Linked DNA regions of Homo sapiens: region 1 is linked to region 2. Evidence: promoter capture Hi-C in 16 types of primary human blood cells and fetal thymus (Javierre and others, 2016). All regions are on one chromosome and are shown on one strand. Each heading gives the region's core, a stretch centred on a gene start or on the middle of the fragment in contact. The rest is flanking DNA. Distances are from core to core; before and after follow the strand shown. Region 1 overlaps POLA2 (DNA polymerase alpha 2, accessory subunit). Region 2 holds the start of LTBP3 (latent transforming growth factor beta binding protein 3).

Region 1 (3,387 bases), core at 701-3,200, 280 kb before region 2:
TCACTGTCATCTAAGCAGATCAGCAATATCCATGTGTTCTTAGAGGTATAATTTACCAGTCAGGGAGTGGAAATGTGAGAACTTGGCAGTTGAGCCTAGAAAAATGGGAATGTTTGCACATCACCAGACTGTTAATTCATTACTTACCCACCTCCATAGACACTGGGGAAAATTGATTAATTTGAATTTCATTTTATTGTTGTTTCTACCTTGAACCATATTGTGAGTTTTTATATATGCTCAGCAAGTTTTAGCTTATCCACAGTTGCAGGCTCAGATGATGTTCCAATAAATGCTAAAAATTCATGAGAAGAAAAAAATGGGACTTAAAGTTTGCCTTTTAATCAATTCAGAATCTGGGGATCTTTTTGCCTTGCTTAGTTTTAATGCCAAGAGAACGACAACTTTTTAAAATACGTTTCTGTCTCTAAACTTCTCTAAAAATGTTTGGTATTCCTCAGCCTGGTATTCCTCAGCCCTTCATTCCTGAAATTCCTTAAAGGTCTGGGTATGTCCAACCCCATTAAACTGATTCAATTTATAAACTATGAGGCCACCTTCCTTTTCTCCAGTCCCCATTTCCAAAGGTAACCTCATTTTATTCTTCTCTCCCTTTAGATATGAACACAGTAATATTAACCTGTTTTGCTTCCAATTAGTGCTACTCCCTCCCAGAAATACAACTCACGAAGTAACCGAGGAGAAGTGGTTACCTCCTTCGGCTTAGCACAGGGAGTATCTTGGTCTGGGAGAGGAGGAGCTGGAAACATCAGCCTGAAGGTCTTGGGATGTCCAGAGGCACTAACTGGGAGCTACAAATCCATGTTTCAGAAGCTCCCAGACATTCGAGAAGGTGATTGTTTTTCCCTTTGAAATTCTGGTGGATATAAAACCACCTAGAAGGGTGTAGAGTAACAAAGCTTCAGCTAGGCTGGTAGAACAAGTTCCAAGGTTGCCTTTCAATGTATGAGTTGGTAGATGTCCTCATGGAAGCCCTAGTAATGGAGGGACACGGGCAATACTATCAGTGATTGCCCCAAGTCACTTCACTTTGCTAAAACGCACATAACCATTCCCAGCAGCAAAAACTTGAACGATGTAAAGGAATTCAACTTAAAGATATTCATGGTTCCTTCGTTAGAAGCCTTCTTCAGGTTGGCCTTGACTTGCCTAAAACCTCAGTGAGGACTTGAGTAAAGGGCAGACTTGGAGATGGGGTGGGGTTCATGCTGATTCCCTGGAATTGTGCTATGGGGTCTCCTGTGGCCAGATGGAAGGCCAGATTCAGCAACCAAATATCGGAAAATTGGCAAAGGTTTTAGAAGGTTTAAACTGGCCAGATGTCCAGGCACCCTTCCTGCTTCTGTAAAATGACTGACTTTAATATTTTACAATGTGCTGTATTTTCTCTTCTTGGCAAGTGAAATGTCTTAAACATAATACTTTTTTCCACTTCTGGGATTGTAGTTCTGACCTGTAAGATAGAAGAACTTGGCAGCGAACTCAAGGAACATTACAAGATTGAAGCTTTCACTCCTTTGCTAGCCCCAGCACAGGTAAGAGTTGTTCTAATAGTTCTCACTAATTAATATTACGTTTTTAAATCGATGACCAAGAGGCATCCTTCTTGCTTCCTTTTTCACTTCTTGTCTGTGTTCTAGTTTGAACATCTGTCTTGGTTGAATTTGGGAAAATGGGCCCTTCTGAAGAAAGATTTGTAAGTGCTGTCTGGTTTTGTGGCCAGAGAGTGATTTTCTTCCCACTTGGATTAGAGTCTTGCACATAAGCAGAGACTCAAGGCCTTGTTTCCCTTGGTGGTGAGTCAGGTAGCTCCCCGGGGATTTCCCACAAATAGAAGCATTCACGTATCGAGATAAAAGGACAGCAGCGACGGTGGGGTTTTCAGAATCTTGTTCTCTGGACAATGACTCACAGTCTCTCCCCTGGTTTGGTCTCTTGTTATAGACAAACTGCTGCCAATAGTATCTTTATATCATAGTTTAATCTGGCATATATACCAGTGCTTTCTCTCTAGAATGTTTTCTAATCTAAGGGGAAATATATTCTAGAAGTTTCTTTAAAGTACCTTTGTCAATGTTTACATTCAAAGAATGATCAGTTGGGGAAGTGATGCAGAACTGTGTCATAGAAGGAAGTGTTAGAGGACTTGGAAGGAAGTAATTGAGGGAAGGCAGGGAGGCACAATCACTGGGAAAGATGAGACTTCCTCTGTTTTCTCCCAAGAGTGGGAACAGAACAGAGGAAGCCATGGAGACAGAGATTTTAGCTCAATTAATAAAGAACTTCCTGTTAAGAGGTTGTATGGTATGTGGCTAAGGATATGGCTCTAGAGCCAAATTTCTGGTTTCAAACCCAAGCTTCACCCACAGTTTGACCTTGACTAAATTATCTAACCTTTCTGTTGCTTGTTTTCCTCATCTGTAAAATGGATACAGTAATATCCACCCGATGGTTGTTGCAAGGATTAAATGAGTTAATACATATAAAATGCCTAAGAATACATTTTAGAACAGTGCATGGTATTTAGTAAGCTCAAGAAATGTTAGCTATTATTAAGTAGTTATAGCTGCCCAAAGATGCAGTGGGCTGCCCTGGGGTGGTGAGGACAGGGTGGGGTAGGCATCCAGGGGCAAGTTCCCCTACACTAGAGATGCTCACACTTAGGCAGCCTCCTAGGAAGGCTCAAGTGCTGGGTGGATGGGTGGACAAGATGCCCTTTCAGAGTTCTTCCATCCTGAGAGTCAGTGATGACGCGGTAGTCACCTCAGGGTCAAAGCAATGCCCTGCCAAGAAATGTATTTGTTGTTTGCAGTTTGTTTTGCTATTCACCCTATCGACTTCAGATTTTGAGCTCCTGCTCCAAAGACTGTCATTCTTATGCTGTGACCTTCCTTTGGTAGGAGCCTGTCACTCTGCTGGGCCAGATTGGCTGTGATAGCAACGGGAAGCTGAACAACAAGTCAGTGATTCTCGAGGGAGACCGGGAACATTCCTCGGGTGCTCAAATTCCAGTGGATTTATCTGAGCTTAAGGAATATTCTCTGTTTCCTGGACAGGTGAGATTGGAGGAGTTCCACCAGAATGCAGGCGCACTCTTTACCCCTGTAGTGTAGGTGCTGTGCCATGCGCAGCTGCTCCTCAGTTCCTGTCTCTGCTGCCATGGGGTGCAGCTGGAGCACATGCCCCAGAGCAGACACCACTGTTGGGATTCCTGTTTCCCCCATGCTCTGACCCAGGCTCTGGGACCTGACTGCGCAGCCTCAAATCCCAACTCCCCGCTCCATGAGGTGCATGACTGTGCACAAGGTACTTAACCATCTAAACTACAGTTTCTTCACTCACAAAATGGAAATAATAATTCTTACC
Region 2 (3,573 bases), core at 189-2,688:
GGGGAGGGGGTGGACTCCAAGCTGAACTGGGGAGGGTGTAGGGGCTTGGGGGAGGATGAGGGGGGCCCTGAGGGCCTCTGAGGCAGGATGTTAGGAGCTTATGGGGAGGCATTGGAAAAGGAGAGGCTGAGAACCCCGAACTAGTCCCTACCTTCAGGCCTGCACCCTACTTTTAGGCCTCAACACCCTCCCTACTCAGACCTTGCCAGTAGCCGGCTCCCATCCCCAGCCCTGACCTTAGCTCCTCCTCCCAGGGAATGCAGGTGTCTACTCTGGCAGGCCCTACTTTAGACATTTTGTAAAGACTTTTCTTGTTTCTTCCAGCAAGTCTGCTTCTTGCGGGAATATTTAGCCCTTCTCTGAGGCTTCCTGTCCCCGGCTCACATTCCTCAAAAACCCTGTGTGCTCCTGCTCAGAACTCAGCACCTTCTGGGAAGCCAGTGTCATCCAGGACCTCTGCATTTCCCCACCCCTTAGGCCCCAACCCTAACGCAAAGCTTCAAAGTCCAGGCCTCCATGCAGCCCTCCAACTCTGGCCCCCAGAGTTCCAGCCTCCCAAGTTCCCTGAGGCCCCTGGTCCCCCAGGCCCTCGGATCTCTGCCCTTTATACCCTCAGCCCCCAGTCTCTAAGGCCAAGACCCCACTAGCTCTCCCACCGGGCCTGGTGCCTGTCCTTCCCCTGCCCCCAGCCGTGCCCCCGGCCCTCACCCACGCGGAAGCCGGAGCCCGTGAGCGTGTCTGTGCTGTGGCCGTTCTCTCCGATGAGCGTCATGTTGGAGCCCTGCTGACAACTGTCCCGACACTGGCCCTTGAGACAGGTCCGCTTGCAGATCACCGGCGCAAAGACCACCTTGAAGCGCTCGCGGGCCAGCGCCCCGCCCCCGCCTGCGCCCCGCTCGCCGGCCGGCCCCCCCTCGACCCTGCCGCCCAGGCCCAGCAGCAGCAGCAGCAGCAGCAGCAGCAGCGCCAGCAGCCCCGCCGCCCCCGCCCCGCGCATCTCAGGGGCCAGGCCGCCAGCAGCCCCTCGGGGCCCGGGCATCCGGGGCCGCAGGACCCGGGGGAGGGGGGGCGCGCCCGGGCGGGGCGAGGGGCCCGCGCCCGAAGGGAGTAGAGGGCCGGGAGCCCCGGGAGAGGGTAGGGGGCAGCGAGGGAGGGCAGCGGGGGAAGCGGGCGGGAGGGGACCGCGGGGGCCCGGCGGGAGGCGCGGAGATGCAGACTGGACAGCGGGGAGCGCAGAAACTTCCCAGCCCCAGGACGAAGCCCAGACCAGGCCCCGAACTCAGGCAGGAGCGAGGAGGCCGGAGCAAGTTGAGGCGGAGAGGAGGAGCGAGGGAGAGGAAGGCCGGGCGGCCGGCCCGCTCCGCGCCTCCCCCTGGCCGGGCTCCTCTCCCGCGGCCGCGGGGAGGCAGGGAGCGCGCGGGGAGGGCTCAGGGAGAAGTGAGCAGTTGTTTTCCCTGGCTGGAGCGCGGCGCGGCGGCGGCGAGGGGGGCTGGGACGCTGGCCCCGGGCCAGGGACACAGTTTTTTTTTTTTTGTTGTTTAAAGCGTCGCCTCTGCCGCCTGGAGAAGCGAGGGTGTGCAGGCTGGCGGAGGCTGGGGGGTGGCGCGGGGACAGTCCCCACCCCAGATGCCCGCCCCCGCCGGAACCCGCGGCCGCGCTGGGCCCTTTCCAGAGGGCCCTCACCTGGGACCGTCTGGCCGGCCGCGGATTCCTCCGGGCGGGGCGGGGCGGGGAGGCCTGCGTAGAGCGAGATACCGAGGCTGAGGGAGAGAGGTGGCCCTGCCGGGTCACACTGACGATGGAGGCCGGGTGGAGCCGGAGCCCAGGCCTTCCAGCTCTTTCCCAGCCTCCCTTGCAAACGTGGGGGTCTCAGGGCCCCAAAGTAACTTCTCGTTAGTGCTGGTCCAATCCCCTCTGAGGAAAGGGCTAAAGGGTGGGGACAGCCTTTGGCCAGGGCTCACGGAGGTCCCAGGAGGAAGTCTGTGGGGTCCAGAAGAGGAGCAGAAAGAACAAAGCTAGAACCCAGCTTCCCTGCCAGCCCCCTCGGAATGGCTTCCTGGTGCCCACCCTGCCACCTCCCCCCTTTCCTTTCGTCTGGCCGTGCTGGCGGGGCTGGCTCTGGGCCTCAGACACTCTGGAATCGCCAAGGTCTGAGCTCAGGGCCTGGCCCCCTTCCCAGGCTAACAGCCGGGAGGACGGGGGCGCTGTCCGAGGGCCCAGGGGCTGGAGAGGGGCACAGCAGAGCCCCAGGGCAGGGGCTGGCAGCGGCTGGGGGTGGGGGTCTTCAGGTTGGCCATGGCTGGAGAGGAGCATAGTTCCAGACCAGGCTTGTCCGCTGGTCTGGAAGGAAAGGCTGCAACGTGCGGGGGCCCAGGCCTTACTGTGGGGCCTGCCAGGAGACCCCAGGGTTCCGTCTCTGACTCACAGAACTCAGCAGGAGGTGGGGACGGCTAGGGCACATCCAGGAAAAGCGCTGCCAAGTCAGGGCGGCACCAGACCCTCTCCCGGACAGCACCCGGGGCAGCAGTCTAATTGGGGAGAGGAGGTTCAGGGACTCACTTTCAGGCACACCTGTCCAAGGAACTCTGTTTTTACTTTGAGCGTAAGTTGATGTGGGTAGCTTTAGGGGGACGCTTAGTAAGTCCCCCTTACTAAGCGGTGCAGGGCTGGGAGGGACAATCACATGTCCCCAGGGATCCCTGCTGCCGGAATCCAGGATGGGGTGTGAGGGGCAAGCCCCTGCTTCTTGGGGCCCTGGTCCACACGGAGGCAGGGAATAATGCTAGGTGCCGACCACCTGCCAGGCACAGGGCTGAGCATTGTATACTCATTTTTTCCTAACACTCATCTGAACCTGTCCTGACTCTGCCTAGAGCTGGCTGTGGCTCACCATGGAGCACAGCACAGTCAAACAGTCCAGGGTTGGATTCTTACTGTCTCTAAGCCCCAGTTTCCTTGCTTGTGAGATGGGTATCTATTCACTCAACATCTATGTTCAACTACTGGTAATAAAAAACAAAAAATTAAAAAATAAATGTAAAAAATTCACTCAACAAACTGAGACTCCACCACATCCTAAGCTCTTGGCCACAAATAGAACCAGTCCTGCCTTCCTGGAGCTGCTGTACTAGGAGAGCTGGATATGTGCCAGATCAATTCACACAGAACTGTGGCTACAACAGAGGCTGGTACCGTGACAGAGAAGGGCAGGGAAGCAGGACAGGAGAGGGCTGGGACCTGGGAGACAAAGAGAGTCTTCCATCGGAAGCTGGAAGATGAGTAGGAGTGAGTCACACCTGTGGGCATCTGACCTCAGGGGAGGCTGCAGGGGGAGGCTATCCAGAGAACTGAGGGAAGGCCAGTGGAACAACAGGGTGTGGTGGAGAGGGAGAGCCGAAGGTGTAGTGGTGGTGGGAGGGGCCGGCCATGGTGAGGAATTTGCTTTTATTCTCATTGCAGTGGGACTGTGTCAGGGCAAGAGCGGGCACTCTGCCTTCATCCCAGGAGAGAGATCTCACTTGGCCCTGGGAGAGATGTATTTGGGAGGGGAGATGTAAAGACTGGGTGAAGTAG

What was found. Contacts are between HindIII fragments. The CHiCAGO score rates a contact against its expected background, and 5 or more counts as called.
Region 1: a fragment that was not itself captured here is called in contact with the fragment with the promoter of LTBP3 in region 2 in 1 of 17 cell types (monocytes); the score reaches 5.2 in monocytes.

The regions. Positions count from the first base shown.
Region 1 is chr11:65,278,071-65,281,457 of GRCh38, forward strand. It overlaps POLA2 (DNA polymerase alpha 2, accessory subunit), which reads left to right. Exons shown (of 18, transcript NM_002689.4): 6 at 660-853; 7 at 1,468-1,556; 8 at 2,922-3,077. Among named protein-coding and RNA genes, the nearest start is that of POLA2, 18 kb to the left of the region's middle. RefSeq lists an enhancer at 1,200-2,399. The HindIII fragment of the contact is 851 bases long and covers 1,526-2,376 here.
Region 2 is chr11:65,556,921-65,560,493 of GRCh38, forward strand. LTBP3 (latent transforming growth factor beta binding protein 3) reads right to left here and starts at 1,439. Exons shown (of 28, transcript NM_001130144.3): 1 at 709-1,439. The coding sequence starts at 1,039. RefSeq lists silencers at 1,268-1,507, 1,558-1,717. The HindIII fragment of the contact is 7,741 bases long and covers 496-3,573 here.